Linked DNA regions of Homo sapiens: region 1 is linked to region 2. The links are contacts of gene promoters, found by promoter capture Hi-C in human tissues and cell types (Jung and others, 2019). All regions are on one chromosome and are shown on one strand. Each heading gives the region's core, a stretch centred on a gene start or on the middle of the fragment in contact. The rest is flanking DNA. Distances are from core to core; before and after follow the strand shown. Region 1 holds the start of RRP7A (ribosomal RNA processing 7 homolog A). Region 2 holds the start of SREBF2 (sterol regulatory element binding transcription factor 2).

Region 1 (4,696 bases), core at 2,197-4,696, 690 kb before region 2:
CCGGGCCTCTGAAGTCACCAGTTCTCCATGCCCAGCCGTGGCCTGTGGGAGGGAGCTGGGGGGGTGAGCTGGAGCTGCCACTTAGCGGCAGAGTCGCAAACTCACCGTTCCTAATGAAGCCCGTCGCTTCTCCCTCCTCCTCCTCCCAGCAAGCAGGAAAAAAAAAAAAAGTTGACTACTGAGACCACATGCTAGGAAATCCATGGGTGGGTGCTCTAGTTGACAAGTCCCACTTGAGCCCAGCCATATTCGGCCATTCTTGCACTGCTATGAAGAAATACCTGAGACTGGGGAATTTATAAAGCCAAGACGTTGAATTGGTTCTGCAGGCTGTACGGGAAGCATGGCTGCATCTGCTTCTGGGGAGGCCTCAGGGAGCTTTGACTCATGGTGGAAGGCGAAGTGTGAGGGGTCACTTCACATGGTGAAAGCCTGACCAACAAAGTGGGGGGTGAAGCAGCCACCCATTTTTAAACAAACAGATCTCGCGAGAACTCGCGATCGCAAAGACGCAAAGACGGCGCCAAGCCATGAGGCCCCCATGATCCAAACACTTCCCACCAGGCCCCACCTCTAGCACTGGGGATTACAATTTAACATGCGATTTGGGCGGAGACAAATACTCAAACTCTATCACCAGCCATCCCTGCTGAGATGCCGGACTCATCTGCTGAGATGCTGCGATGTGAGTGAAGTGACTTGGAACCTTTAGTGCAGCCCATATGCCAGCTGAATACCATCAAATGCCCTCAGTCAGTGCCACAGGGAGAAACAAAATCTCCTAGCAGAGCATTGCCCAAATTCCTGACCCATGAAATACATGGGCAGTGGTAATTATAAAGAAAGTGGAGTTAATTGATCGAGTGGCATCAGTGGGCTGAAGGAAGAAAACAACAGGCCTCAGGACAGCCATTTATCAACTTATAGCCCAAGGTGAAAATCAGGAGGGGCTTCCAGAGACGTGTTTAAAGACAGGTCACATTGTGCTGATAAAGGCCTAGAACCTGATGAGAACTGTGGAGTTTGAATCAGGGCAGATGAACGGCTGTGCTAAGTGCTGTGCTCCAGTCAAGGAGCACAGAAGTGAAGGAGCGGACACTGTCACCTAGGGCAGGGAACGTCTGGATAGATGGGCTCAAGAGTCTTGAATTCTAGGCTGGGTGCAGTGGCTCACACCTGTAATCTCAGCACTTTGGGAGGCCGAGGTGGGCAGATCATCTGAGGTCAGGAGATCAAGACCAGCCTGGCCAACATGGTAAACCCTGTCTCTACTAAAAATACAAAAAAGTAGCTGGGTGTGGTGGCACATGCCTGTAATCCCAGCTACTTGGGAGGCTGAGGCAGGAGAATTGCTTGAACCCGGGAGGTGGAGGTTGCAGTAAGCTGAGATGGCAGCACTGCACTCCAGCCTGGGTGTCAGCAGAGTGAGACTCCGTCTCAAAAAAAAAAAAAAAAAAAAAAAAAAAAGGCTTATGCCTGTAATCCCAGCACTTTGGGAAGCCGAGGTGGGCGGATCACAAGGCCAAGAGATCGAGACTATCCTGGCCAATATGGCGAAGCTCTGTGTCTATCAAAAATAAGAAATTTAGCTGGTCATGGTGGTGCACACCTGTAATCCCAGCTACTCAGGAGGCTGATGCAGGAGAATTGCTTGAACCCAGGAGGCGGAGGTTGCAGTGAGCGGAGATCGCGCCACTGCACTCCAGCCTGGCGACACAGCGAGACTCCATCTCAAAAAAAAAAAAAAAAAAGTGATGTTGTGTGGCCAGTCCTGATATCCATCGAGATGGCTCCTTGAAGCGTGGAAGCAATACATGAGAGGGAGATAACAGAACGATGGTGGCAGGGCACTGAGAAGGAGCCAAAGGCCTCGGGGAGGGGGATGTGCAGGCACAGATTTATTATGCAACATCTGAGAAGCCAGATGACCGTATTTCTGGAGGGTTCACCAGAGACTGCTTTGACTAGTGGGGGGTCTAGGCATCAATGGGCAATCGGCATGGCCGTCCTCTGAGGCCAGGGTAGAAGAGGGCAAATAGGACTGGAGCCGGGCTCGGAAAGGTCAGCAGGAGATAGGATTCCAGAGAGCAGAGGTTCGGTTGATGTGACTGTCAGAACAGGAGCAAGGCCAGAGTGGCTGCCAGGGATCCTGGGCGCACAGGAGTCTCTGGTGAATGCTAGTAGACCACGGTATTCCCAGGGGCCACGGAAGCCCCAACACTGCTTGACTGCGCTAAGCAAAGAAAGATCAAAAACAAAAAACGAGCGAACAGGACAGTAATGGCAGCTGCTGATGGAAAATCCCAACCCCTCATCCAGTTTCCAGGCCTAAGCTAGGCCTCAGAACCAGAGGTCACTGACTGAAAGGGAGGCTGGGTCCCCTCCAGACCACAAATATTTGCAGTAGTAGGCTCCTAATCTTTCCCCAAAGGGGCCGACAGCATTTCCAAGAAGCAACTGTACACTGGGAAAAGAGAAATAGTAGATACATCAAGGGCTGGCGGGTACACAGTCTGAGAGGCCCTTTGGAGTCCAGAAAAGTGGAGTCCTTGGACTTCATTTCTCCCCTATCTACACTTGCTCCCTTGGCGATCACACCCTCTCATAACTTTCTTTTTTTTTCTCTTTCTTTTTTTTTTGAGACAGAGTCTCGCTCTGTTGCCCAGGCTGGATTGCAGTGGGGCGATCTTGGCTAACTGCAATCTCCGCCTCCTGGGTTCAAGCGATTCTCCTGCCTCAGCCTCCCGAGTAGCTGGAATTACAGGCATGCACTACCACGCCCGGCTACTTTTTGTACCTAGTAGACACGGGGTTTCACCATGTTGGCCAGGCTGGTCTGGAACTCCTGACCTCAAGTGATCCGCCCCCCTCGGCCTCCCAAATTGCTGGGATTACAGGCATGAATCACCGCACCCGGCTCCTCTCGTAACTGTCAATAACCTATCCATGGCCAGTCCCGTGTGTATTGCTCCAGGCCTGACATCTCTGATGTTCAGTCTGTTCAGTCTCATATCTAAGTGCCCACCTGACATGTCCCCTGAGTGGCCTAATGGGCATCTCACCACGGCTCACAGAGAACTGATCTACTCCATTTTCACCCCCAAGCAGGCCCCTCTCCTGCAGTCTTCCCATCTCAGTCAATGGCAACACCATCCTCTTAGTTGCTCAGACTGAAAACCTAGCAGCCATCCTGGATTTCTCTCACACTGCCTATTCAACGTGTGAATGCATGAGTGGAAAGCTGAGTTCGCACTCGTGACTGGCCGGGGTCAACTCTGACATTCGCTCCCACTTTCGCGCGCTGATTTATCTCTGAGCGGATGAAGGTTGGGCCATGGCGGGCGGGGCCGGGGAGGCGGGCTTGGAGTGAGGGGGCGGGGCAGGCGCCACGAAAACGCGCTCGCGCCGGCGCCGAACCGCAACTCCCGGCGGCCCCCGCGCTCCCGGGTGGCAAGATGGTGGCGCGCAGGAGGAAGTGCGCCGCGCGGGACCCGGAGGACCGTATCCCCAGCCCACTGGGCTACGCAGGTGAGGGGCTCCGGGACGCGAGACCGGGGGCGGTCAGGCATCGCCGGGAGGTGTTTGGGGGTTGGCGACGGCCGGGGGTCCCCAGGAGCGGCCGCACGGTTGGGTGTGAGCCCCGGTGGCCCGTGGCCCCAGGCTCCGCAGGTCTTGAGGCTCCGGGGTCCCGAGGACCCAGGCGGCGCCCTTCTGCCTGCTCACTCTCCCGGGGCGAGCCCAACTTGGTCCACGCTTCCCTTGGGTGAGCCCGCCTCTGTCCACACTCTCACCCAGGACAAACCCATTTCCGTCCACACCCGCTCGTCCAGGTGAGCCCATCCCCTTCTCATCGCCTCTGCTCCTAGTCCATCCCCCATCAGCTCTTACCTGGGCTGTTATAGGCCCTCCTACTCGGTTGCCCTCCTTCTCCTCTTGCCCCTGCTTCTGTTCTCCACCCACGTGCCAGAATGTTCTTTTAAGGACATTTAGATTCGATCATGTCTGCCGCGCCCACGATAGGCGCCACACCTACTGCATTCCCTCCAGTGGCTTTATCAGGTAGCTTCTAAAACAAAAACCAGACTTCTTAACCTGTGTGGGCCACGTGGTCTGGCTGGTGCCGACCTAAAGCTCTTTCTGTTCCTCTGAGGGAACATGCTTTTTCCCCCCTCTGGGTTTTTGCACGTGCTGTGCCGGTTTGTTGCACAGTGGCGTTCTGGCCTGAGCTTTAATGTTGCTTCCTCAAAGAGGCCATCCGTGATGGCCTATGGAAAGAAGACCTCTGCCACCCCATCACCCTGTAATGTTTCTTTCACAATTGATACAAGTTTGCTGTATGCTTGTTAATTGTCTTCTCCGTTATTGCAACTGAGCTTCCTGAGTTCAGGGACCGCAGCTCTACGCCAACCGGTACTGTGACGGAGGTGTGAGAAAAATAGAAGCAGTTCCTAGCTTTATGAGGATTACAGTCATGGGTGTGCCAGCGATTAACCAAAGAATCTCATCAATATAGCCTCCAGACTGTTAAGAGAAGCTGTGAAGGCACAGGCAGTGGGATCTGAGCTGGCAGGAGGGGCGGAGGTGATGCTAAGGCTCTCCTGAGGAAGCGAGGTTTGAGCTAAACCTGAGGTGAGCGGGAGGGAAGAGGGTGACACGCCAGGTAGAGAGGCCAGCATGTGTGAGGCCCTGGTGTACC
Region 2 (4,859 bases), core at 1,038-3,537:
TTGCGGTGAGCCGAGATCGCGCCATTGCACTCCAGCCTGGGCAACAATAGCGAAACTCCATCTCAAAAAAAAAAAAAAAAAATTTAGGTGGCTCACACCTGTAATCCTAGCACTTTGGGAGGCCAAGGCAGGAGGATCATTTGAGCCTAAGAGTTTGTGCTATGATTGTGCCACTGCATTCCAGCCTGGGTGACAGAATGAGACCCTGTCTCAAAAAATAACTAAATAAATAAAAATTTAAATTTAAAAATCAGATAAACAAAATAAGACAAATAGGAATTGATCATGGAATAGGAATGCAAAATGCACATGAATTTCTTTCTGTGCCCTTGCAGGTAGGCAGCTATAGACATACAGTACTTTCTACTGGCTGTGTAATCTTCAGTAAATTAATGAACCACCCTGGGCCTCACTTTCAGGATCAGTGAGAGGGAGATGACAAGTATAACAGTTCTCTCTACCTGACAGGGTTGTTAGGAAGATTGAGAACATTAACGTGTATAACTGTTTAACACCGTCTGGCACAGAAGTTCTCAAAACATGTTAGCTGCCCTTGCTATGTTCCCAACCCCCACCTACCCCATCCCCCATTTGTTAACCCATTTCTGTATTTAGAAGCACTTAGCAAAGAGTCTGTGGTTAGAACTGGGGCTTCAATTAAGGGTCTTATCACACTGCCCACATGACCAAAATGGAAATCAAGGACAAACCAAGGGGAGAAATATTACAAAAGCAAAATGGGAAAATGGCAAACAGATCCTTTTCAATTAGCTGCTGCATTTATCTCTTCCCCCAAAAGAGAATCTTCTGCTGCTTCTGCTTCTTCATCTGCACAACGGGGATGTAGCCATCATACATGCCTGCAAGGCTGTAGTGAGATCCTGGACATGAAAGCATTCTGAAAACTGAAAAGTACAATGCACCTGTGTTTCTGCCTAAGCTCTCTAAGGTGAGTGGCCTTAGATAAGTCAACATCTCCTGGCCTCGGCTTCTTTAATTACCGTATTAAAATAGAGGTAATAAGAGTATCTCACAGGATTGTTGTGAGGAAGAAGTGAAATAATACAAAGCATTTTGGGGCCTAAACATAAGAGTGCAACTATCCAGTTAATAAGATTACTAGCCTAGTCAACTGGACTCTTTCTTGAAAGGAGGGGTATAAAAAAACCAATACTGGCCAAGGAACTGCAAGAACTAGGCTCTAACCAGCTGGGTGACCTTGAGCAAGCCGCTGACCCTCTCCAAATCGTTGTTCCCGTGGTCGCAAAATTAGTATTTTAAGAGTGGATCCCTGGGCTCCTACCAGCTCTTCCACTCCGCTGTTAAGGCGCTGGAACAAAGGCCACCCGCTCCCCAGCCCGTACCCGAGGGGCCACAACTCAAAATTTCTTCTGCTCAATTCCCCTTGCAGCGTGACAGCAGGAGCGCCCGGGTCTCCATCCCGGAGAGATGTGTCCACACTCCGCCGCCACTGCTCTCTTCATCAGCAACTTGCTTCTGCAGTCGCTGCCCAAAGTTTCGCGGAGCACCCGGCGACCTGGCCGTCGGTCAATCCTGAGAAGCCCAGGGATTCGGGGCGCGGAGACTGGGGGCTGGGCCCCGGGAATCCCAAAGACGTCCCCGCGGCCAGGAAGGGAGTGACAGGTGCGACGCGCGGTCGCGGGCGGCGGGAGAGCGGACCACGGAAACCGCGTGTGGGCGCGCGAGGGAGGCGGCGGCCACGCGCTCTCCTTAGGCCGCTCCCTGAGACGCCCCCGCGACGTCCCTAGCCCCGCGCTCTGGAACCCGCGACCCTCGCGCCGCTTTCGGCCCCGCGGCGCCCCAGATCCCACGGCCTCCCGGAGCGGCGCAGCTGGGTCGGGCTCACGCTCGCAGCGCCGGAAGGGTTGAGGACCGCCGGGGGCACCGTGCGCACGGGGTTCTTCCCGCGCGAACCGGGGCTGTCGGGGGGTGGGCGCACGCGCACCCGGGCGCGCCGCCGTAACCCCTTCCTCCCCGCGCGGCCCCCGCACTCCCACCCACCCACCACTCACCGTCGATGTCTCCCAGGGTCAGCTCGTCGCCCAGCTCCGTGAGGGTCTCCATGGTCTCCAGACCACCCAGCTCGCCGCTGTCGTCCATCGCCCGGCTCAGCGCAGAAGCCCCCCCTGCCGTCCCGCTCAGGGAGACGCGGGGGCGGTGCCGTCGCCACCGCCCATGACACCCGACAACCCCCGCCCGGCACCGCCTCACCGACGGGTGCCACCCGCCGCCATGTTTGCGTTGCGCCCGGGCGCCGCACAGAAAGGGCGGGGCGGGATTCCCCCGCCCCAGCCCGCGCCCCCTGCGGCCCCGCCTCCAGGCCGCGCGCCCCCCTGTTTGTTGTCAATGGGACCAGGCTCATCTCAGCCAATGGGCGAGCGAAGCGGTGCGTGGGGTGATGGCGCGTCATCGATCAGCAGCTCAGATTTGCATAGTGAGGTCCCTCCCCCCGCGGCCTCGGAGCGAATGCCTGGAGTAGCCGTCCGGTCATCATCTTAACCTTCTCCGCCTTGTTTAAAGGAGCCGCTGCCTTCTCCGTTGGATCTGCGCCACACGCAAGTCCGTCCACTGGCCTGGGAGTGAAGGGTTAACAGGCCACCCTCCACCTGCGACCGCTGGCCGCCTCCAGGCCTGGCTGGGAGCACATTACGTCATCTTCCCAGCTGCCTACCCCCGCCCTGCCCGCCTGAGAAAGCCAGCGGAGTCAAACCTGGACCCCAGCGCTCGGGACGGGAGTCCGGGTCATCCAAGTCCCGCTTCTCCCAGCCTCCTTACAAAGGCGGGCACGGAGGCTTGACAAGGTTGCAGATTGTCCCAGGGCGGTCAGGATTTTACGTCTTCTGCTTTGCACCCGCCGTGACCTCGCGCTTACTCCAGTGGTCCTCAATCTCTGGCACCTCGGAACCACTGAGGACCTGAAAACCACGCCAGTGCCCAGGCCCACCGACGGCCTCCTGAGAGGGGGGCCCCGGGCACGAGTTTTTTGAAAAAGTTCCACCGGGATTCTGAAGTGCAGCCCACCCACTCCTTCAAGCACCTCACTGCCCCATCTTGCAGCTGGTCGTGTTGTAAACTTCTAGGAATTTATCCAAAGGAATAAAAATTACAAGTGCTTAAAGAAGTGCTGTAACTAGGAAGAAGTGAGAATAAGGAAATGAATATGTAAATTACATCCACACGATGGAATACCATGGGATCATTAAAAATTACGCACACAAATGTATATTTATTAGCAAGAAAAGGCGTTCACAATATATTGATAAAAGGGAAAAGTTGAAGTTTCCTGCCAGTTTGTGAGAGGCAGCTGTTGCTTAGTGATCAATAATTAAGAACACACAGGCTGTGTGGAGGCAGACACATGGATCCACTAATTCACTGTGACCTTGGGTTAATTGTTCTAAGCCTCAGTTTAGTCATCTCTAAAATGGGGATAAAATAGCATCCCTCATAGCTGTGGTTAAGTGAGATTATTTGCACATTCAATTGACAATATTTATTGAACATCTCTGTGGCAGGGAAACAAATGGTTCCTGCCCTCTGAGAGCTTCCAGTCTAGCAAAAAAAAAAATCAGAAATCCCACACCCGTATTAAACATAAAAATAAATTACAGATGATGGTACAAGTGATCAAGGAAAGGTAATGGATGTGATGAAACTAACAAGGGCCCTGACTTGTGCTGTCAAGAAGCCTCTGAAGAAGTGACATTTAAGATGAAACCTAAAATTATGAGAGAACTGCAGCTGTTACAGCCAAAGGGGAAATGATGACATGGACAAAGGCCTCGAGGCAGGAGGAGCTGCTGGCAGCCAGCTCTCGGCATAAGCTTTGGCATACAGTAAGTGCCTTGCATACTGCTGTATTGCAATTGAAAAAATAAGGATCTGGCCAGGCGCGGTGGCTCACACCGGTAATTCCAGCACTTTAGGAGGCCGAGGTGTGCAGATCATTTGAGGTCAGGAGTTGGAGACCAGCCTGACCAACATGGTGAAACCCCGTCTCTACTAAAAATACAAAAATTAGCCGGGTGTGGTGGCGCATGCCTGTAATCCCAGCTAACCGGTAGGAGAACTGCCGGAACCTGGGAGATAGAGGCTGCAGTGAGCTGAGATCATGTCGCTGCACTCCAGCCTGGGAGACAGAGCAAGACTCTGTCTCAAAAAAAAGAAAGAAAAAATACAAAGAGAGTCCGGGCAAGGTGGCTCACGCCTGTAATCCCAGCACTTTGGGAGGCTGAGGTGGGCGGATTGCCTGAGGTCGGGAGTTCGAGACCAGCTTGGCCAGCTTGGTGAAACCCCGTCTCTACTAAAAATACAAAAATTAGCCAGGCGTGATGGTGCATGCCTGTAATCCCAGCTACTCAGGAAGCTGAGGCAGGAGACTTGCTTGAACCCGGGAGGCAGAAGTTACGGTGAGCAGAGATCGCGCCATTGCACTCCAGCCTGGGCAACAGGAGACTGCGTCTCAAAAAAAAAAAAAAAAAAAAAAGAAAAGAAAAGAAAAAATAAGGATCTGTGTGCTCACCTGAAGGTTAAAAACGATGGAAGACCCAACAGCTGGCTGTCAGACATAGTTACAGGAGTAGTGAGATTTGGGGTGAATTTTACTTTTGGAGTGAATTTTACTTTCTTTTTGGCATTTCAGTATTGCTTAAATTACGTTTTATAATGAACGTGTATAACTAATGAGAAATAGATAGTGTCTTATTTTTTGGGAAAGCAAGACAACATTGTTCTCGTCATTGTTCACACACAGGGAGGCTGGTATAGAATACACCAGTCTCACCCTGAAAGACACAGAAAACTAAACCCTGCTCTGGACACAGCACTGAGCAGGAAGG

Evidence for each region. The method cuts DNA at HindIII sites, captures the fragments that hold promoters and counts their contacts. A contact is called where the count stands out against the background at its distance.
Region 1: the fragment with the promoter of RRP7A here is called in contact with the fragment with the promoter of SREBF2 in region 2 in 3 of the 25 tissues and cell types used here (dorsolateral prefrontal cortex, lymphoblastoid cells and spleen).

What each region holds. Positions count from the first base shown.
Region 1 is chr22:42,518,546-42,523,241 of GRCh38, reverse strand. It overlaps RRP7A (ribosomal RNA processing 7 homolog A), which reads left to right and starts at 3,446. Exons shown (of 7, transcript NM_015703.5): 1 at 3,446-3,528. The coding sequence starts at 3,456. LOC124900479 (a long non-coding RNA gene) reads right to left here. Exons shown (of 3, transcript XR_007068117.1): 1 at 3,889-4,696. RefSeq lists enhancers at 2,245-2,539, 3,065-3,124 and silencers at 3,305-3,364, 3,385-3,554, 3,565-3,694. The HindIII fragment of the contact is 27,172 bases long and covers 1-4,696 here.
Region 2 is chr22:41,830,533-41,835,391 of GRCh38, reverse strand. SREBF2 (sterol regulatory element binding transcription factor 2) reads right to left here and starts at 2,287. Exons shown (of 19, transcript NM_004599.4): 1 at 2,034-2,287. The coding sequence starts at 2,121. CCDC134 (coiled-coil domain containing 134) reads right to left here. Exons shown (of 7, transcript NM_024821.5): 7 at 3,228-4,859. It overlaps SREBF2-AS1 (SREBF2 antisense RNA 1), which reads left to right and starts at 727. Exons shown (of 2, transcript NR_157279.2): 1 at 727-949; 2 at 1,412-4,859. RefSeq lists enhancers at 1-371, 2,162-2,818, 2,424-2,933, 3,760-4,299, 4,300-4,840 and silencers at 1,594-1,983, 2,044-2,383. The HindIII fragment of the contact is 7,421 bases long and covers 1,091-4,859 here.